5 separate regions of the Homo sapiens genome follow, and regions 1, 3, 4 and 5 are each linked to region 2. Evidence: promoter capture Hi-C in 16 types of primary human blood cells and fetal thymus (Javierre and others, 2016). All regions are on one chromosome and are shown on one strand. Each heading gives the region's core, a stretch centred on a gene start or on the middle of the fragment in contact. The rest is flanking DNA. Distances are from core to core; before and after follow the strand shown. Region 1 overlaps SUSD1 (sushi domain containing 1). Region 2 holds the start of SNX30 (sorting nexin family member 30). Region 3 holds the start of SUSD1 (sushi domain containing 1). Region 4 holds the start of UGCG (UDP-glucose ceramide glucosyltransferase). Region 5 overlaps SUSD1 (sushi domain containing 1).

What was found. Contacts are between HindIII fragments. The CHiCAGO score rates a contact against its expected background, and 5 or more counts as called.
Region 1: a contact is called between a fragment that was not itself captured here and the fragment with the promoter of SNX30 in region 2, in 1 of 17 cell types (fetal thymus). The highest score is 5.4, in fetal thymus.
Region 3: the fragment with the promoter of SUSD1 here is called in contact with the fragment with the promoter of SNX30 in region 2 in 2 of 17 cell types (megakaryocytes and fetal thymus); the score reaches 6.3 in megakaryocytes.
Region 4: a contact is called between the fragment with the promoter of UGCG here and the fragment with the promoter of SNX30 in region 2, in 1 of 17 cell types (fetal thymus). The highest score is 6.0, in fetal thymus.
Region 5: a fragment that was not itself captured here is called in contact with the fragment with the promoter of SNX30 in region 2 in 1 of 17 cell types (naive B cells); the score reaches 5.3 in naive B cells.

What each region holds. Positions count from the first base shown.
Region 1 is chr9:112,089,189-112,093,532 of GRCh38, forward strand. The region is part of intron 10 of SUSD1 (sushi domain containing 1); the gene reads right to left. Among named protein-coding and RNA genes, the nearest start is that of LINC02977, 51 kb to the left of the region's middle. RefSeq lists an enhancer at 2,535-3,181. The HindIII fragment of the contact is 3,755 bases long and covers 1,129-4,344 here.
Region 2 is chr9:112,748,982-112,753,358 of GRCh38, forward strand. It overlaps SNX30 (sorting nexin family member 30), which reads left to right and starts at 1,779. Exons shown (of 9, transcript NM_001012994.2): 1 at 1,779-2,176. The coding sequence starts at 2,021. SNX30-DT (SNX30 divergent transcript) reads right to left here and starts at 1,584. Exons shown (of 1, transcript NR_186503.1): 1 at 1-1,584. RefSeq lists a silencer at 1,537-2,356 and enhancers at 1,626-2,547, 2,548-3,467. The HindIII fragment of the contact is 6,629 bases long and covers 239-4,377 here.
Region 3 is chr9:112,172,972-112,177,125 of GRCh38, forward strand. It overlaps SUSD1 (sushi domain containing 1), which reads right to left and starts at 2,326. Exons shown (of 17, transcript NM_022486.5): 1 at 2,162-2,326. The coding sequence starts at 2,264. It also overlaps the pseudogene RPL29P20. RefSeq lists a silencer at 1,785-2,444. The HindIII fragment of the contact is 4,774 bases long and covers 708-4,154 here.
Region 4 is chr9:111,895,475-111,899,770 of GRCh38, forward strand. It overlaps UGCG (UDP-glucose ceramide glucosyltransferase), which reads left to right and starts at 1,340. Exons shown (of 9, transcript NM_003358.3): 1 at 1,340-1,839. The coding sequence starts at 1,742. RefSeq lists an enhancer at 791-1,374 and silencers at 995-1,584, 1,695-1,784. The HindIII fragment of the contact is 9,149 bases long and covers 1-4,296 here.
Region 5 is chr9:112,045,000-112,048,913 of GRCh38, forward strand. The region is part of intron 15 of SUSD1 (sushi domain containing 1); the gene reads right to left. Among named protein-coding and RNA genes, the nearest start is that of LINC02977, 6.5 kb to the left of the region's middle. The HindIII fragment of the contact is 2,542 bases long and covers 1,195-3,736 here.

The DNA.
Region 1 (4,344 bases), core at 1,756-4,255, 660 kb before region 2:
GTTTTTTAAAGGTATAAAGGTAACCACTAGAAAAATGTAAACCTTCCTTTAAAAATTAATAAATAAAGCAAAGAAAATCCATCACACAGAGAAAGAAATGCAGAAAATATAACACAATACATATAGCAGTTGTAACATAAAATAATAGGATGGAGTTGAAACTATAAGAAAGTAAGCACTGCAATCTCTATATAAGACAAAGTAGAATTCAAATCAAAAAGCATTAAATATGACAAAGGACCACTTTTAATGCTAAAAGCCACAAGTCACAATGAAGATATAGTACAACCACCTTTGTAAAGCAAAAGAAAGTATAAGAAAGGATATAATAGTTATGAAAGCAGAAACTGGCCAGGTGCGGTGGCTCACACCTGTAATCCCAGCACTTTGGGAGGCCAAGGAGGGTGGATCACCTGAGGTCAGGAACAGCCTGACCAACATGGTGAAACCCTGTCTTTACTAAAAATACAAAAATTAGCTGGGCGTGGTGGTACATGCCTGTAGTCCCATCTACTCGGGAGGCTGAAGCAGGAGAATCGCTCGAACCCGGGAGGCGGAAGTTGCAGCGAGCTGAGATCGCGCCACTGCACTCCAGCCTGGGTGACAGAGCAAGATTCCATCTCAAAAAAAAAAAAAAAAAAAAAGAAAAGAAAAGAAAAGAAAGCAGAAATAATGATATAGAGCGAGAATCAAGAAGTTTTATCTATAAAGGGCCAGATAAGTAAATATTTTAGGCTTTCCAGGCTGACAGTTCTGTCACAACTATTCAACTCTGCCTTTGTTCCAGTAAAACTATTTATGAAAACAGGTGACAGGCCAGATTTGTTCTGCAGGTCATAGTTTGTTAATCCCTGATATTGTGAGACAGAAAAAAAATAGTAGATCCAATTAATAAACCAAAATCTTAGAAAAACTAATAAAATAAACAAACCACTTAGCTAATTTAATCTAGAAAAGGGGCAGAAAATAAAGATAAAGGGAGAAATGATCACTGAGACAGAAGAAAATTCAAAAAGTTAAACGAAACTACTTTGCAGATCAGTGTACAAATAAATTTTAAAACTTAGACGAAATAGGTAATTCCTTGCAAAATCTGGTTTGCCAAAATTGACTCCATTAGACAGAAAAAGCTTAAACCGACCAATTTCCATAGAAAAAAATTGAGAATGTCATCAAGGAATAACCCCATAGAAAAGCCCCATACCCAGATCATTTCATAGAATTTGATGGATTCTACCAAATCATCCAAAATCAGATAGTCCAAATGCTATGTGAATTGTCCCAGGGCATAAATAATGAAGGAAACTTTACAAATTATTTTTATGAAGAAAGGAAAATACCAATGCTTAAACCTGATAAAGAGTGTCAAAAAAAATAGAGAAAAGTATAGACCAACATTACTTATAAATATTGGTGCAAAAATACTAAAGAAAATATTAGTGAACAGAATCTAACGCCACATACGACAATACACAATGACCAAGTGGGATATATTACAGGAAGGGGTAGAAGTGCAAGAAAGAGAAAAATTTGAAATTATATCAAATTTAAAAATTATAAGTAAATAAAAGTTGTTAAAATATCTTGTAGTTAGCTTTCCTTTGCATGGCACTAAGGAATATTTTAGACTAAAAAGTATGTGACCCTTTCTCTGATTCTAGCCTAGGAGAGAACAGTTTTGGAGTCTGTGTCTATACGCATGATTAGAAAATGAAGGTACTAAAAAGAATGAGATGAATCTATTGCCTTCAGAGCCACTTAGAACCCATTTAGCTGAAGGCTCCAATTCTAAGCAACTTATTCATCTTTATGAGTAAAGGTAATGGATATGGTCCCACTGAGCTGGATCTACAAGGTCACTAACTTATCTGTTAAAAGAACAAACATCTACTCTCTCCATACTTGGCACATTCAGATGATTGTATATTCCATGTAAAATATATGCCAATTTCTGGCTTGACCAACTACAAGTATGGGTTTCTCAGGCTAATGGTTTGTAAGAAAAGAAGGTAGACTTCAGGCATAACTCTTCAACCACAGAATACTGTTATAATATTTATCACTCTGTGGAAAAATATCAGAAACAACATTAAATGATTTATGGTCTTAATTATCTTTTGTTTGGACTTTAATTCTGTGAACAGGAATCCATTATGGGGGAAGTTTTATAAAGTCCACATAGATCTCAAATTATGCATGCTGTTCAAAACCTGCAGCAGAAAGCCACCTTAAGAGTAATGGTTTTCTACCAGGGCTTTACTCCCTGGGAAGAGTGCTCTGTTCCTTCTCCTTGTAGGATTTTTTAAAACTTACCAACATTATTTTGGGAATATCTAAATGCATGCAATCTTCTGCTAAAAAGAACTGAATAAAAACATTCTTTTGTACATAAATAATAGCGGTATTTAAATCTCTAATTAGAAGTAGCCTATATAGACAGTTGGCTTTGCAAGCTAAATATTGTCATAAAGAATGGCTATAAATCAACTATCCTGAAAGCAAAGTTACTATTGTATAACTGCTCTATAAATAGTGGTATCATCTTAGTTATCCTTGATTTACATTTGGGGAGCAGTTTATCTTAAAGAGGGCAACAAGATATAATATGGTTCAAAGCTGGGAGCTTTACTGTTATTTTATTGAAATTTTTCTTTAGACAAATTTGGTATCTGGTCAGAACAACTGTGAAATTTTTCAGGCTAAACACCTGTGACTATATTACAAGGAGAGGAATTTTGAGAGTTCAATCACCCATTCATTGGCAGAGCAGATTCAAACAATTCCCTTGGCTCAGCTCCCCAGGCTCAACCTTCCAGCAGAGGAGGCCAGCGTTCAATTCAAGCACAAGTCCTTGTTATTCAATTGGTGGCACAGAACAATTGCTCCCTGGGTACTTATAAGAGAAAACAGTTGCTAGCTCAGTGACACCAAACATTCATCAAATCTCAGTTGAGGGAAACAATATTTAGAAAACAATGCTTGAAAGAAATGGACTCCAGTCATACCTCCAAATAATCTAAATAACCTAATCCTACCCCTGAATCAAGCCAGATCAGCAAACAGCAGGCATTTCTAATGCATCTTTTCTGCCACTCTACACTGAATTGTGCTTTTCTGTGTTCAGGGGCAATACAAAAAAATAGCCTTATAAAATCCTCATAAAATGCTGCTCAGACACTGTCCTATTTATGAGACCCCCTGGAATCAGAAATTTCTAACTGATTCTTAATGTTGAAAAAGAATTGTGCTTCTGAAAAACACTGCTTCGTTGTAACATTATGGACAATGCAATGGTTCCCTTTCTGGCTGGATGGGAAAACTCAAACCTAAATTTTAGAGGCACTAATGAACAAGTAAATAGGTTATAAGGGCATGAATTATTCTTAACCTTATTCCTATATTTTTTATGTCTCTGTTTTTGTTTTCTTTCTTCTTTAGCCTAGACGTCTAACCTATTATCGTTTATTTTATATACCCATGCAGGTCACTTAAAGTCTTTCCTAGAAATAAGACAGAATATAAATACTCTTTTGTTTTAAAAAATTCTACATTTAATAACAATGTAATGAATCACAATGGAAAAGATCAATAGATTTGACTGTATAGCAATCTAAAACTTTTATATGTCAAAAACATCGTAAACAAAATTGAAAGAAACCATAAAACAGAAGAAAGGCAACATAAATAATAATCAAAGAAGTCATGCTCTCAGTATATGAATAAACTATCTATGTCCATGAGAACACAAAATTTGATCAATAAATAAAATAGTGATGGTAAATTAACCAAGAAATTTGGACAAATTTTTCCTTCAAAACAAATGAATTTGAAGGAACCTAAAAGTAATTTAAATTGCTTTCCTAACATAGACTCCTAGAACTATAATGGACCTTTCCTGTTCAAGATAATTACAGAGATCAGTGACCTTGCTTGAGTGTATTAAAGGTTGCTATTTACCTGTCTTTCCAATTCCATAAGGGAAAAGGCAATTTTGGCTTCTCCCTATTCCCTATATGTTAATCCTCAAGGAAGGAACAGTAAATATGTAATCTAATTGGTAGGAGACTGCCATTCCTTGAGTCACATTTCCAAGTAATAAGTTCATATATTACAGGTTGCCACCCAAACAAAAGGCAGACTTGCTCTCTGGGACCCGCCTGTGCACAGGTACAAGGAGCACTCTGGGTATCTCCGGTCTCCAAGAGGTAAGCACCCAGTGTCTGTCACCGCCCTTTCCTCTGCTTTTCGGCCTGAGACTGGGTGGGTAAGCCAGGCAAGGGTCCCTTACAGACCCAACTGCCCATATTTCCAGGGGGAATTCCAGCAAGTAGGAAGTTCCACTTG
Region 2 (4,377 bases), core at 529-3,028:
ACATTTAGGGAGCACCTATTTTATGCCAGCACTTTGCTAGGACTATGACATAAAGAATGCTATATAACTCTCACAACCATCTCATAAGGTATTATTACCTGCTCTCCATTCTCCTCCTTTTTAGGTTAGGAACAGGTTCACTGAGGTTAGTAACTTGCTCATGGTCACCCACTTGTAGTGACAAAGCCGAATTCAAATGTGGTTCTTTTTTCACTTTCCCCTGGTGTACTAAAGAGAAAGCTTGTATAGAGTCTTAATCCATACGGATGTCCATTATATTTAAGGCAGCCTGGTTGTTAAAATAAGTAGCACCATTCAATAAGAAAAACCGATGTTATACATCTATAGATGTATATACTCATTTCTAGAAATACTCATTTCTAGTTATATTGTGCTATTCATTTTCATGCTAATTCAGAAGAACAGATAATAGGGTCTGTAGTAGTTGTAAGCAGCCCTTGAATGTGAAAGTGTTAACAATTTTAATCCAACTCCAAGAGGACCAGAACTTGGCATTCCTTAGATGCAGCATTTAAAATTGTTCCCAGTGCCCTTTGAATGCTACTTTTCCCAGCCAAGGCAGGCTTATGTGGAGGAGATAAAGATGATAGCTTGAGGACTAAGGGTCCAACCCTATATAAATTACATTGGGGGAAATAGGGGAAGGTCTTTGAAGCTCAGAGTCTCTGACTGATATTTTGGGTAGATTTCAACCCTCTGCATTCTCTTCTATTTGTTTCTAGAGAAAACTGTGGTAGAGGCCTTAGTGAATCCCAGAGTCAACATCTGTCATCACCTTTTAGCAGGTAAGGCTAGGCAAACCTTTGAGTTTGGAATGGGTAGGGAAAATGTGGTCCCTCACGATGAGCCTCCCTACCCATTACTTTGCTAGAGGGACTGAAAACCCTTTAAAGACTTGGCCTTGGAAACAGAAGATCTAGGGACAGGTAAGGTGGAAAAAGGAGGTGAACCTACACCCCAAAGGGCTGGAAGTAACACCTTGACTATTTGCACCACGCCAGCAAATAAAGCTGAGAATCAGCTCAGCCCAAGGCCTGGAAAGGAAGCACAAATGCATGAAGAATAACTTGAACCTCATGGTTCTTTCAAAAGTCTCTTCGGCCAAAGTGTGAGTTGAAGAGTCGCATATCATTTGAGACTCTCTACTCATGCTCGCTGTTCTGAGGTTTGACTTTACACAAATCCAGCTCAGCTGCAGAAGCAAGCCACAATGGGGACCTCAGAGTGAGCCTGAAGACTCCCCACACCGCCTCTTTGAAGTCCCTTCCAGGTTCCCCACCCGATGTCCTCTAGCTCATTTGAGCCTTGTCGCCCTTTATGCTATTCTTCCGATATGGGTCGTAATTCCGTCTATCTAGGGTTCTTCCTGCGCGTGCCTTAGAGGCCAGAAGACCCTGACTCACGTGCGTGTCCTCAAAGCCCCCAGCCCCAAGCGTGGCTGCTGGTGGGCGCATCAGTAAACGCGGGTGGAACGGAACAGGCTCCTCCAACCTCTTTTCCACCTCTGATTTCCGTTAGACATTTGCTCCGCACGGCGGCCTCCGCGAGGCAACGTTGGACACTGGGAGGACAGCCGCAGAGGCCCAGGGCGCACTTCCTGCCGGGCGGGGGCGGGGCCGCGCCTCCTCCCTCCCTCCCTCCGTCCTTCCTTCCCCACGTGCCCCTTCCCCGCCCTCCCCGCCCCCTCCCGGGCGGCCGCGGCGCCTCGGGGGCGGGGCCGGAGCGGGTGGGCGGTGTGGCTGTGTGGGCTGGGCGCCGCGGCCGTGCTGCCAGCGGACCCGCGGCGGGCTCGGGCGCGGAGCGGGGGCGCGCGGCGCGGAGCGGAGCGTCTGAGCGCCGGCAGAGACCAGCCGGCGGGTGGCGGCGGCCCCCAGCACGGCCGGTGCAAGGCCTCGGGTTAAGCGGCGGCCGAGCGGGGCTCGGCCCGGGGTGCTCGGGGAGCTCGCCGCGGCGGGCAGCAGGAGGAAGCGGCGGCGGCGCGTCCCGAGCGGTGCGCGCCATGGCGGGCGGGCCCCCCAAGGCCCTGCCGTCCACGGGGCCCCACTCCCTGCGCGACATGCCGCACCCGCTGGCCGGCTCCAGCAGCGAGGAGGCCGTGGGTGGTGACAGCACGCCCAGCCCGGACCTGCTGATGGCCCGCAGCTTCGGTGACAAGGTGGGGCGCCTGGGGCCGGGGAGTGGGAGGCTTATTTCGCTCCCCGTGGGGGGGATGATGGATCCGGAGCCTTCGTGGGCCTGGGGCCGCGCCCACCCTGCCGCCCCTTCCCGGGGGACGGGCGTGTCCTGGCCCCGGAGCCCTCGGCGAAGCGTCTCCTCTGCCGCCTCCGCGGGGTCGCAGCCGCAGAGGGACAGGCTTCGCTGCCTGTGACTGGTCGCAAGCACCGGTGACAGCTGGTGGGGAGGGGTCCAGCCTGCGTGTTGGAGCGGGAGGCGTGTGTTCAGGGCAGGGCGCCTGTGTCCTCGGATGGGGTTCCGAGTTCCTCCAGGTGCATCCCTGCAGGCTGAGCTGCTGCATAACTTGTAGCTCCTCCAGTTTCCGAGACTGCACAGAAAGCAGGAGTTCCTGGCTTTCCGTGCTGGGACCGGGCAGCCCTGGGCTTACAGCGAGAGTCTTCTTCCCCCTAGTCAGTCATGTGGGGAGTGATCTTTGTTTAGGTTTGCTGTTTGTCCTGAGGAGTCACCTGACTCAGACCCCAGCCGGCGGCGGGAGGAGAGCCTCGTTGTGGTTTTCTGTCTGGGGCTCCATTCACCTCCGACGGCCTACCACTCTGTTTAGGTTTGGCAGAGGCTGGTTTTGTGGTTGATGGAAAGAAAGCTCGCCCTTTGACCTTCTTTGTACGGAGGGAGGCTCCAGATTTTCTTAGAGCAGCACAACCCTCCTGCTGCTTGGAGAGACAGCAGAGTCCAGGCAGGGGTAAGGGACGACCTCCTCCCTACCCCCATGGCCATTTCAGCTGTGAAGGAGACTTGAGCAGTGATTGTATCCCCGCTCCTGCCGTCACTTAGTCACTAACTGCAGAAATTAGAATTGTTCTCAGGTCTTGTGATCAAGATTTTCTCTCCCTAGTAAAATACTAAATGAATTCCCCCTTGTCCCAATATTAATGGGAGCAGGGGACCTAACTTTCTTCTCCCGTTAGAGGGGACACCATGTGGTACAGTGAAAAAGGAGTATGAGAAAATATAACCTGCCCTCCTTGCAGTCAGAAGGTCACTGAGCACTTAAAATCACTAGAGAGTGCGACTTGATGTACCTTCTGCAGAGGGTTTGTGAAAGCAGGGAGTGAAGTTCCAAAGCATTAGGAACAGGAAAATTAAAAAAGCTAATGGAGGCCAGGTGCAGTGGCTCACACCTGTAATACCAGCACTTTGGGAGGCTGAAGTGGGATGATTGCTCTGAACCAAAAGTTTGAGACCAGCCTGGGCAACATATCGAGACCCCGTTTCCACATACGCACACAGCATGGTGGCATGCACCTGTAATCCAGGCTACTCAGGAGGCTGAGGCGGGAGGATTGCTTGAGCCTGGGAGTTCAAGGCTGCAGTGAGCTATGATTGCACCGCTGTACTCCAGCCTGGGCAAGAGAGTGAGACCCTGTCTCCAAAAAATGTTGAATAACTGAATAAATTTGCTTTCTTATCGACAAAAATTGGTCTTAAAATAGTGTAGGAACTGGGGGTTAAACCTCATTTCCTTCTCAGTTCTGTGTGGGACACTGAATTAATTATCTATTGCTGTGTAGCAAATTACCCCAAAACTTATCACCTGGAAATAGTGTCTGTGGGACAATCTGAGTGGTTCTGAATTAGGCCTTTCTTGAGGTTGCAGTCAAGTTGTTGGCTTGGGCTGCAGTCATCTGAAGGCTGGATTAGGGGAGGATCCACTTCTAAGCTCACTCACATGGCTGTTGGCAGGTCTTAGTTACTCTCCATAGGGCTGTTTGATGTGGCAACTGGTTTTTCCCCCCAGAGCAAGTGATCCAAGAGAGCTCAAGACTCTAGCCAGTCTTGTATAACTTATCTTGGAAATGACATGCCTCTGCTGTATTCTGTTGGTCACACAGATTGACACTGGTACAATGTGGGGAGAGGGTGTGAATATCAGGGTGTGTATACCAAGAGGTGGGGATCATTGGGCCATCTTGGAGACTGGCTACTACAGATAGCCATTTAAAATATTTACCTAACGATTCACTCATGGATGATACCTGACTCAGAAGTATGAGCATTTTACTAATAAGCACTTGGAAGACAAATTCCCCGTACCACCAAGATCTGGTTAGTGGTGAAGAAGTCAGTCTCAAGTCTAATTACCGATGGCTTCCTTTAAAGGGTCTGTTCTGTGTAGGAGGGAGA
Region 3 (4,154 bases), core at 1,076-3,575, 580 kb before region 2:
TCTGTTTCCCCAAATTCACCCCCAAAACCTTTAGTTACAGATGACCTTACGTAGCTACTAGCTGTGTTCAGCCATCTTAGTCTAACAATTCAATGGGATCATACTGGACAGTTTCCTACCTTAGAGATATCACAGGAAGATCCTGAAATAGACGCCAAGCATCTGCAAGTCCTATGCGCACTGTTCTCGGAGATAGAGCCAAGGAAGGAATCTTAACCAGGGCACCTAATATTACAAAAATGGCCACTCCAGAAGATCAAGCCATTGAAATACCCATCAGGCATGGTAAAAGTCCCAAGCCAAAGAGAATGGGGGTGGGGGCGGCAGGCAGGATTCTCAACCACAAGTCTCCTTGTATGTCATCACATGGAAATTTCCTTCCACTTCAGGATCAGCGTTTGGTTTTAGTAAGGAAGATGGGGGTTCCTTAGACCCTCTTTCCCCCGCCTCAAGTTTACTTATACAAATAGCAAAGGAGGACATCAGCCCCATGCAGATGGCAGTCCAAGGGGGACAATCCTTCTGTCCTCACGTTGGCAGACACAGATCTCTACTCTGAAGGCTTTGTAGGGGCCTGAGCTCCTTCGGGAGTCTGAGCTGGAACTGAAGCTGGAGCTGCAGCCTGAGCCTTGGTTTGATCCTTGACCTTGGTCTTTGGCTGGCACAGCCTGAGCCCCTTGGCAATGCGGGCACGAGCACGTTTCCCAAGCTTGAGGTGGGCAACGTAGGCAAGAGCTGACACCCTTTGGAATCTTGGGCTTAACCTCCTTGGGGTTTATGAGGGCAAGGCCTCAGCACGTGCACTCATGGCCTTGGCACTGTCGCCCTGCATCTTCTTTAGGCCCCTCTTATTGTGCTTCTTGGCAAACCGCATGTTTGTCAGGAACTTGGGGTCCACCCCTTTAAAAGATTCGTATCTTTGTGATCCGGGTTTCATGATGCCGTTTCTGTGCCATTTTCGGGACTGGTTGTGTGTGGTGTGGTGCTTGGATTTGGCCATGTCTGCACTGTAACCTGTGGCTCCCGAAGCGCCTAGAACTGGCTAGACCCACTTTTCTTGTCACTCCCTGAGACGGCTTCCAGTGGCTTCCAGGCACAGCTAAGTCCAAAGGCCTAGGTCTGCCAATCAAGGCACTCTGCCCTCTGCCTCTGGTGCCTCCGTGTGCTTCCTTCCCTTCTCCCCCGGGCCTGAATTCTGAAGGAATTCATTCATTCTACACTCATTTGTGGAGAGGTGACAGTGCCTTCTGCTATGAGCTGGGATACCTTTTTCACATTTTCCCATATCCAAATATGACCAATCATTGATGGCCCAGCTCAAGGGTCACCACCGATTCCCCTTTCCCTGCCCTCACCACCCACACCTTCTCATGGCACCCATGCCATTCTGCCTTGTATTACAGTTATGTGGATGAATGTCACCTCCCCTGCGTGTCTGAATCCTCTGTGTAATTCCTACTCAGCTCAACACTGCATTTTGCAGAGGAGGAAAAACAACTCCCTCGATTGCTTGGAAATAGAACATTTGCTGGTCTAAATCCTCCAGACAATGAGCTCCACGAGGGCCCGCACTGCCCGCCCTCATCGCGCACAGGGAAGCTGTTCAAGGGCCATCTGTTGAATGAATGAGTGAATTAATGGCTTCACTCCTGTACTCTTCCTTACGCGTCTTTCTCACCATATTTAGCATCCGGCTCTCTAACAACGTGAAAAAATTAAAAGTGGTAAGAAAATTGCTTCGGGTCAAAAATGTGTCATGCAAAAGCCACCGCAGAGCCGGAAGCGTGACAGCGCCGCAGAACGCCCTGGCCTCCCCGCCCTTCCCCGGGCGCCGCCCTGCCCGGGTCCGCGCTCGCGCCCAGCCCCCACCCCGCCTCCTGGGCAGTGGAGGTCCCTGGGGGCCCGGCCAGGCCGCCTTAAAACCGGCGTCCCCCGGCGTCGCGGGGTCGGGCGGGGGCAGGGAAGCCCGGCGGGGAGCCCCCCGCTTCTCTGAGCTCCTCCTTGCCGATCTCCAACGGCCGGCGCGGGCCCCACCTGCGCCCCACGCCTCGGCACCGCGCCGGCCCGGCCCAGGGGCGGGGAAGCGTCCGTGCGCCCAGAGTCCTCGAGGCCCAGCCGGGGGCCCCGCCGGCCGCCCGTGCCCGTCCCAGCCCGCACTCACCGTCGGGGCCCGGCGCTCCCGCGGCGCCGCGGGCCAGGCCGAGCAGCAGCAACAGCGGCAGCAGGCGGCGAGACGGGCCCGCATCCCAGGGCCCCCGGCCCATGCCGCCGCCGGTCCCTCCCGGCGCGCCCGCGCCTCCTCCCGGGGCCCTCAGGGTGCAGAGATAAGGCTACAGGCGCCGCGGGGAGGGGACCAGCCGGCGGCTTCCGGCGCCGCCGAGGGAAGCGGGGGGCGCTGCGGGGTCCCCGGGAGGCCGCAGAGCGCGGGTCCTTCCTCTTGTCGGGGCCTGGGCTTAGGACACGCCCGTTCCGCGTCCGTCTCTGGCTCCGCACTTGCTGCCCTCTCGCCGCTCACATTCGCAAAGGGGGACAGACACTCATCGGATAATGACACAGCTGGACGCAGAGCCCCGGAGAGTGCTGGGGAGGAAATGTTGCGGAGGATTCAAGCCACTCGAGGGCTCAGGGAGGCACCCCCGGGGAGAGGGGTGAGGGGAGCAAGGGGCGGAAATCTTCCAGGACGTGAAAGGGAGCTGGATGAGGTGACCACAGCGCAAGGCCCAGATGAGAGGTCGGAAGACGCAGACCCAGGCCACCCAGGGGCGACACACTTGACCAGGTGACACCTGGTCACCGGGAGTGAGAGAGAGTAGGGCTGTGATGGAGGGAGGGGCTGGCATCAGTCCCCGCTGCTCTGAGGACACCCGGCTTGGGACGCGCTGATGCCAGCCCCTACCTCCATCACAGCCGTACTCATCCCAAGGGAAGGAGTAAACCAAGACCCAAGGATGAGAAGGACGTTGGGGAGGAATCTAAGCGGGAGTTTGTTGTAGAAATGGGGAATGGGGACCTAGAGTGAGAGCAGAGGGTTGGAGAGGGGCGTTGAGCTGCAGAGGGAAGTTAGCCCTCCTAACCCAAGTGATGGAGGTCGCCGGGAAGCTGTCACAGTTTCAAGCAGTGAATGACTTCATCACTGACACATCTCTGTCTGTTCTGTGGAATTGGGATTGGGGTTGGGTTGGGATGTGGAAGGCAAAGAGTCCAGCCCGGAGTTGCTGCAGGAATCAGGCAATAGAAGACATGTCCTGGCCCGGTGCGGTGGCTCACGCCTGTAATCCCAACACTTTGGGAGGTCGAGGCGGGTGGATCACTTGAGGTCAGGAGCTCGATACCAGCCTGGCCAACTTGGTGAAACCCCGTCTCTACTGAAAAAAAAAAAATTAGGTGGGCACGGTGGCAGGCACCTGTAATCCCAGCTACTCGGAAAGCTGAGGCGAGAGAATTGCTTGAACCCAGGAGGCGGAGGTTGAAGTGAGCCGAGCTCGCACCACTGCACTCCGGACTGGGCGACAGAGTGAGACTCCATAGACAGATAGATAGATAGATAGATAGATAGATAGATAGATAGATAGATAGATAGATAGACAGACAGACAGACAGACAGACAGATAGAGATAGAGATAGATGTGTCCTGCAGCTGGGCATTGACAAATGAGTGTGAAGAGGGCAGTGTGTAAGAGTGGAATCCACTAGGTTTTATGACTAGTCGGGGAGAAGGAAATAAATAAGATCCGGTTTGAAGGCTTTGAGCTTGTGATGTCTGTGGGAGCGCAGCCGAGAGCAGGCACCCCACTACTTCACCCCATATCCTCACTTGTTTACTCTCTGCCATGAGCCTGCCGTAAATCTCACCACTTTCAAACACACCCATATAAGGGCTAAAGTTGTGGAGTCTTAACAAGTAGTTAAAAATCAACTTCAAGCTGGGTGAAGTGTGGCATGCCTGTAGTCCCAGCTACTAAAGAGGCTGAAGGGCAGGAGAATTGCTTGAGTCCAGGAATTCAAGGCCCATGTGGGCAATACAGTGAGACCCCCTCTCTTAAAAAAACAAACAAACAAAAACAAACAAAGAAAAAGCTCATCTTCCTAGGCTCTTTTTTCCTCTTGGGGAGACAAGGTCTTGTTCTGTTGCCCAAGCTGGAGTGCACAGCTCA
Region 4 (4,296 bases), core at 90-2,589, 850 kb before region 2:
TCTCTGCCTCAGCCTCCGGAGTAGCTGGGATTACAGGCGCCTGCCACCACGCCCGGCTAATTCTTTGTATTTTTAGTAGAGACGGGGTTTCACCATCTAGGCCAGGCCGGTCTTGAACTCCTGACCTCATGCTCCACCTGCCTCCGCCTCCCAAAGTGCTGGGACTACAGGTGTGAGCCACCGCGCCCAGCCACAACTTCTTTTCAAAATTGAATTCAATTCTGAAATATCTCAAGGGAGGTCATGGATTATTTAAAAGGAAATCACTTGCAACAATAAACATAAAACAATGCAGAAATAGTATAAACTCATCTAGATTGAAGAAACACAAACATTGAGTACTAGCATCTTCTTGGGATGACTTAAAATTAGGACAAATACTTAGTTACCTTACTACCCAAAGTGACATTTCTTCCCATTTTAGAGCTGTGCTGTCCACACGTACAATTAAAATTTTCTAGTAGCTAGCCAAAGTATTTAAAAAGAGAAATTAACTTAATAATTTACCTAATTTAATGTAGTATGTCCAAAATATTACCTTTTCAACATGCAATCAATATAAAATTTACTAACGAGATGGTCTTCCACATCTGGTGTACTGTTTACTCCACAGAGTGGCAAGCTGCCTTTCCAACCCTCACTTAGCCACATGCGGCTACCGTATTGGATGGCAGTCTTAGGGAATTTCAATATCAACTGATTCTTTAATTCTGAATTTGAGAATTTCTTTTTATAATACACACGGTCGCTAAGGCGCTTAGAGATCTGTGAGGCGCATGGAGATTATTTTACTCTCCGGTCCCTTTTGATCCAAGATCCCACAGCATTAAAAGCAGTAAGAGGGAAGGCAATGGGCATCCCTTGCGCCCAGGAACGTGGCCTGGAGGGCCTGGCTGCTCCGAGCAGTAGCAGTGCCCGGCGGGGAGGCTGCAGACGCGGCGTTGGAAGTTGGATTTCTAGACAAGCTCCGGCAGCTGCCCGGAACCCGTGTCTTTTTCTGGGGCACCCAGGAACAGCAGGGCCAGACGGAGAGAGAGCAGCCTCCAGCCAGGCACAGGGTCCCGAGCTGCCACCGACACCGAGGGAGCCCGGCCCAGGGCTGCAGCGCTTTCCGCCTAGGTGGGCGGCAGCGGGAGCGAGGAGCCGGAGGAAGCCCGGCCTGCGTCCTGCGGGCAGCAGGACACGATCTCCCCGGCGCGCTCTCGCCGGCGCCGCAGCGGGCGCGCGGGCGACAGGGTGGGCGTGGACCGATGGGGGCACCGCCCCTGGGAGAGGCGGGCGCCGCGGTTCCGGGGGCGGGACGCGCCGAGGAGTGGGGCGCGAGCCGCCGGTTTTGATTAGTGCGCGGAGCTGCGGCGGTGGAGCTGCTCGGCCGGGAGCCCGGCGGCGAGACGGAGAGGCGGCGGAGGTGCCCGCGCGCAGGGTCTGGTGGGCGGCCGCGAGGCTCGGGAGAGGCGAACCGGAGCGCGGGACCGCGGTCGCCCCGACCAGAGCCGGGAGACCGCAGCACCCGCAGCCGCCCGCGAGCGCGCCGAAGACAGCGCGCAGGCGAGAGCGCGCGGGCGGGGGCGCGCAGGCCCTGCCCGCCCCTTCCGTCCCCACCCCCCTCCGCCCTTTCCTCTCCCCACCTTCCTCTCGCCTCCCGCGCCCCCGCACCGGGCGCCCACCCTGTCCTCCTCCTGCGGGAGCGTTGTCCGTGTTGGCGGCCGCAGCGGGCCGGGCCGGTCCGGCGGGCCGGGGGATGGCGCTGCTGGACCTGGCCTTGGAGGGAATGGCCGTCTTCGGGTTCGTCCTCTTCTTGGTGCTGTGGCTGATGCATTTCATGGCTATCATCTACACGTGAGTGAGGGACCGCAGGAGGGGCTCGGGGCAGGGGTCCGGGCCTCGGAGACAGGCGAGAATGGGAAACGTTTGCGCTTTGAAGGGGACTGGGCTCGGGCGGGGGTGGAGAAAGCTGATCGTCAGGCTGTTCCCCCCGTTCCCTCGCCCCTCGGACCGGCGGTGGCGGTGGTCTTTGCGAGGGAAAAGTGTTGGGCGTGGGAAGGGTTTGCTGGGTTGCAGGCGACTGCCCAGCCAGGCTAAAGGAGACTGCTCTTACGTGTCAGGCTGAAGGTGGTGGCTTGGTTTGATTGTGCTGGGGATTCGTGTAATTTTTCATCTGGGCCGAGATGTATGGTGTATTGTTTTTTTCTCCCGACCTGGGCCACGTTTCTGTTAGGGTGGTGATTGTGTCCACTTTTCTGGGAGCTGCTCACAGCTATCTGGACACCTCTCTGTGGATTTTCTTCTTCCTGGAAGGGCTCTATGCGCTTAGATAGGTGTGAAGCACCTGTCCACCCTGAAAAATGTCCACCAAACCTCCGAGCTGGCATGATAGCTTTGAGTCCTGTCAGCTTGTACATCTCAGCGTGGTTTTCTTTCCTTTTTTCAGTTCCTCGTTTTATTGTTTTATGTAGATTTGTACTCTCCCCGTGCCGGCCACATCTTTTCATTTTTGTTTAACAAATACTTCTTGAGGCCTACTAGATACCATTCACTGTTATTGGCCAGGGGACATGGTGGTGAGCAGGACAGAATTCCTGTCCTCATGAGTCTTACATTCTAGAAGGAAGGAGCAGATAAAATCTAAATAAGGTTATGAGATTGTGACGAAGCGTGTAAGTAAAATAGAACTGGGTGATGGCGTGAATAGAGACATGGGTTATGTGGCTAGTTTGGTATATCCACTGTTTAAGGTGAAATCTGCCTCTGTAAAGAAATGAAAAAATTATATAGAGCACATTACTGATATCGATTCACTTGGATTTTTAGTCTGGGGGGAGAAAAGAGCAATTGTATATAGTAATCGTTACCATGAACTAGAATAGAGTGTATGTTAGTGGAAGAGACTTTAAGAAATTAGTTACTTTTAGTTTTTTGGTTTTTTTTTTTTCCTTTTTACTGCGGAAAAAGTGTGCCTTTGCTTTTGGAAACACTGTATTTTATTAGTATAGTGTGGCATTTCCTGGTACTGAGAAAGATGATGCTGGTACAGGTTATACTGATATTTCTTTGAAAGTGAAAGAAAACATGCCACTTGGATATTGTTGACTTTAGTTTTTGGAGTTGGTGAGCTTAGTCACAGCACATTCTGGAGTTCATTTAAAATATGTGAGTTCTTTTTCTTTAAAAAAATTGTTACTTTTTACCGTCATAAAAATAAAAAATGCTTACTGTGTAAGGAATTTATGCAATAGAGAGAGATGGAGAAAATTAAAATATGCACACACCAAAACTACATTACCTTGTTAACCTTTTGTGACTATCCTTCCAATCTGTGTGTGTGTGTGAGAGAGAGAGAAGGAGGGAGGGGAAGAGGGAAGAGAGAAAAGGACTATATTATGATTATTGTTCTGTAACCTGCTTTAAAGTTCATCTGTTTAATAAATGTTTATTGAAAAGCCGTTTTGTGCAAGGCACTGTTCTAGTTGCTGGAAGAGTGAAGAACAAACATACAAGGCCCCTGTTCACATGGAACTGTCCTGTAAAATGTCTTGACCGTTTTTTGCATGTCAATATCTGTATGATCTCTACATCATTTGTAATAGATGCATGATATTTTAGTTTACCAGGTACCAAGATTTATTTATTATTACTGATGGATGTTTAGGTTGTTTCCAATTTATCTAGATTACAAAGAACACTGTGATGAATTTATATGCATACATCTTTGAGAAATGATCTCATTTATATTTCCGAAAGAGGAATTATTGGGCCAGAAGTGGTGCACATTTTAAACTTTGATACATATTGGCCCCATGGAAATGTTATGTATATTCACAGTCCTGGTAACATTGTATGATGGCCCCATTTTGCCTTACAAACACTAAGTAGCAGGCATTTCACTGTTTTCTGTTTCTATTTTCATTCCTTTAAAGTTACATTGAGCACTTTTAAAATATGTTTATATGCTAGTTACATTTAGATGTAAATTACATACTCATAATCCTTTGCCTGTGCTGCAATCTGTTGCTGAATTCATCTTTCTGATATAAAGGTTGTTTTCTGTCACATGTAGCATTCTTTTCCCCAGTCTGTTTTTTGTCTTTTAACTTTGTACATATATTTGACATGGAGAAAAGTGTGTGTGCATGTGTGTTTTAGGTAGATAGGTCTTTCCGTTTCTTTTACATTTTCTAACTCTGTTATAATTTTTATATCTTCCTTATTCCTCCAAATTATTATATATGTTAGTCTCTGCTTCCTCTTAGTATTTTTTTCTTAATTTTTTCACATATTACCCTGAATTCACCCAGT
Region 5 (3,914 bases), core at 1,216-3,715, 700 kb before region 2:
TTACAGATGATCAATAAAACTTTGAGCAAATGCTCTCTTACAAGTAATAAAAATGCAAATTAAGGCATTAAGATGCCATCTTTGTGCATGACTCAGAAACATTTTTTTAAATGCCATCTTGGTGGACTAATTAACTAGATTTGTTTTGTTTTGTTTTGTTTTTAAGAGAAAATACAATTCTGGAGATGAACGGGGGAGCTGGTACTTTACTGCACTGGCATTTCATCCGATCTACCCAGTATTCCTTCCAACTTCTGACATCAAGTTTTTTTCTGTGTATTTTTTCCTCTACACTTTAACCCTCTGTATATTTTAATCACTGATTGATGAATATGTTGAACTGAAGATGACTGTGGACAGAAATCCATATCATGCATATTCTTGGGTTTGATTTCAACTCATCAATAATTGTTAATGAGTTGATATCAACTGTGCATAGCCATTCAGCTTGTTTCTAAGCCCACATACAGCTCTCATGTCCCCACATTGTCCACAAGGACATTATTGTTATTATGCGTGCCATATTTCCCTGACCAATTACTGACTCTGTGCAAGAAGAAATGGAAAGCAATCTGACCTAATCTGCTCTTAAAGCTCCTGACTCCCGGGAACTGCTGTTTTTTCTACCAGGGATACACAAGCCATCACTTGAAGACCTTGCTTTGCCTTGACTTCAAGTTACCATCATCTACACTTCTGGTGGTTCTTCCTTTGTACAAAGTTCCTTGTTCTTTGCTCATCTCTAGTCCTCTTACATCTCTCCATTTTCTTCAAGGTTTATTGAAGATCATTTGCAATGGTTTATCCATCTCATGTGAAAATTGTATGAACCTGCCAGAATACGCTACATCCATGTTGGAAGACTTGAACCTATGTAGGGTAGCAAGCTCTTTTCTTTCTTCTAACTATCCCCTCACAAACGAAGAGGACAAAAGCTAAGTAGGAGTTAAGGAAGCTGACTTTCACTTGACCATCCACCAGCAGGATCTACCTGGGCACAACTATTCCTTACTCTAGACATAGTATTGGAAAATGATCTTTATTTATTCTGCATAGCACAATTTGGGTTTGGCTCCAGGAATGATTCTTGCTGGTAGATCAGTTCCTGGTTATATGTCTTTTTGTCTACTTTGCATATATACTCTAAAAATCTGAGTCAATCTAATCAAGAGTGCTCACAAGTGTTGCCACACAAGCTTCTTTAGAGACTTTCCTCATTAATTCCTTAATAAGAAAATTTACAACTGGCAAATTTGAATTGTATTTTTTATAGCCTCACCATCCTTTGGTTACCCTACCTTTCCATGGTCTCATGCCAGAGAACCATGTTTATTTTTCTTCTGAATCACTTGTAGAATATTTTTTTACAAACCCAAGTGAATCACTCATGTGTTATATCCCACATCAGTTACTCAATCTTGGAGAAAGTAAGTCCATTAAGACTAAACTTCACCATTCTCTTTATGGTGGCTCCCTCAAGAGAGCTAGTGCTCAGGAGGAGTGATGGGGCCTTGCTGGACTTATCTTTAACCCCTTCCCTGATAGAAATATCACATGCTGAAGAGGAAGTTAGAAAGGCCCTATTTCTACTCTCAGACTTTGTGACAGCTTGAGGACGCTCCATGGGTGTGGACATTTTTTCATGAATATACACGGGCATGGTCACTTCCTGAAAGCACCAATTCTGTTCTCCAAATGGTAAATAATAATAAAAATAATAATTAGCACAGTGACTTCTATTTACTGTGTTAAATTTCTCTTTGCTATTCTAGGGTCTTCTCACTTGAATTCCATTCAGAGCCAAAGATGGCAAAGGAAATCAAAGTGGAAAACTAATTTAAAGATAAGTTTAAAGATTAATTTAAAGATTAATGCTTGATACATTAGCAACACTGTTATATTCCATTTTTATTGCAGTTTAACAAATCACCACAAACTTAGGTAGCTTTAACCCATTTATGAGCTCAGAATTCTGTGGGTGGTAAGTTCAGGCACATTGTGGCTGGTTCTCTGCTCAGGGCCTGTATTAGTCCCTTCTCACACTGCTATAAAGAACTACCTGAGACTGGGTAATTTAAAAGAAAAGAGGTTTAATTGACTCACAGTTCCACAGGGTGTACAGGAGGCAAGGCTAGGGAGGCCCCAAGAAATGTACCATCAAGGCAGAAGGTGAAGGGGAAGCAGGCACAGTCTTCACATGGCCAGAGCAGGAGAGAGAGAGAGTAAAGGAGGAAGTGCTACACACGTTCAAACAACCAAATCTCATGAGAACTCTATCACGAGAACAGCAAGGGGGTAATTCATTCCCATGATTCAGTCATCTCCCACCAGGCCCCTCCTTCAATACATGGGGATTACAATTCGACATGAGATTTGGGTGGGTACATAGAAGAAAACCGTATTAGGGCCTTACGAGGCTAGAATCAAGGTCTCAGGTGGACTGAACTTCTTTCTGGAGGCTCTGGAGAAGAAGCTGCTTCCAAGCTCATTCAGGTTATTGGCTACATTCAGTTCCTTGCTGCTATGGTTTGAGTTTATATCCTCTGAAACTCACTTGAAATTTAATCCTCAATGTGGTGGTGTCAGGAGTTGGGACCTAGTGGGAACTATTTGGGTCATGGGGTTGGAGCCCTCATGAACAGATTAATGCCCTCTCTCAGAGGTGAGTGAGTTCTTGCTCTGGAGGGGCTGTATTACCAGGGAGCTAGTTGTTATAAAAATGAGTCAACTTCCTAGACTCTTTCTTGCTTCCTGTGTCATCACATGATCTCTTTGTATATACCTGCTGGCTTTTCCACTTCTCTACCATTGTTCTGGTGAGCATGTAGCCCTCACCAGAAGCAGGCCAGATGCAGTACTATGCTCTTGAACTTCCCAGCCTACAGACTCATGAGCTAAATAAACCTCTTTTCTTAATAAGTTACCCAGCCTCCAGTATTCTGTTATAGCAACACAAAACAGACTAAGACACTTGCAGTTATAGGACTAGGGTCCCCATTTTCTTACTGGCTGCAGCCAGGCCTTGCTCAGCTCCTTCTGTTAAGCTGCACTCCTTGCCATGTGGACCCCTCCATCTTCAAGCTGCAGGAGAATTTCCCTATGTCAAATCCATCTCATTCTTTGAAGCTCCAACTTCCCCTATCTCTGACCTCTAGATCCAGATTTAAAGGGCTCCTGTGATTAGGTCAAGCCTATCTGGATAATCTCCCTATTCGGGAGCTTAAGTACATCTCCAAAATCCCTTCACAGCAATACCTAGAACAGTCTTTGAATGAATAACTGAGAGAAGGTAGATGTATACCAAAGACAAGGAATTTGGGAACCATATTAGAATTCTTCCCATCACAACTATAAAGGTTTAAAATGATTGTGTGCATGTATATATGTACATATATACACATATATGTACATATACAGTAAATACATATGTATACATACACACTAGGTTTATATCCTGATGTAAGTCTTCTCTGGCTTATTTGATAAGTATTGCACCTCCTATGCTTCATTTCCCATAAAACTAACTGCTGCTTCCTCAGTAATCATTCAGCCCAATTCAGTGCATTCTGATTGAACACCTAATGCATGCCAGGCTCTGTTCCTCCTCTTCAAATGCCCTTCAAGGGTGTAAAATCTAGTAGTAGAAGACAGACAAAACAAGTGCACACCCATTGCTCTAAAATATAGCAGAATAGCCAAAGAAGGGCAGATCCTGCCCTGTTGAGAAAATTTAAAAAGCTTCAGGGAAGAAAGGGCATTTGATTTTAATCTTGAAAAACAGGTGGGATAAGCAGAGATTCACAGGTGGGTGATCAGGAAATCCAGATGGAAGTCGTCAAGTAATTATATGAGCAAGGACATTAAGAGGAGAAAGCATGGGCCATAGCCAGAAAACAGCTGGAACATTGGTTTGA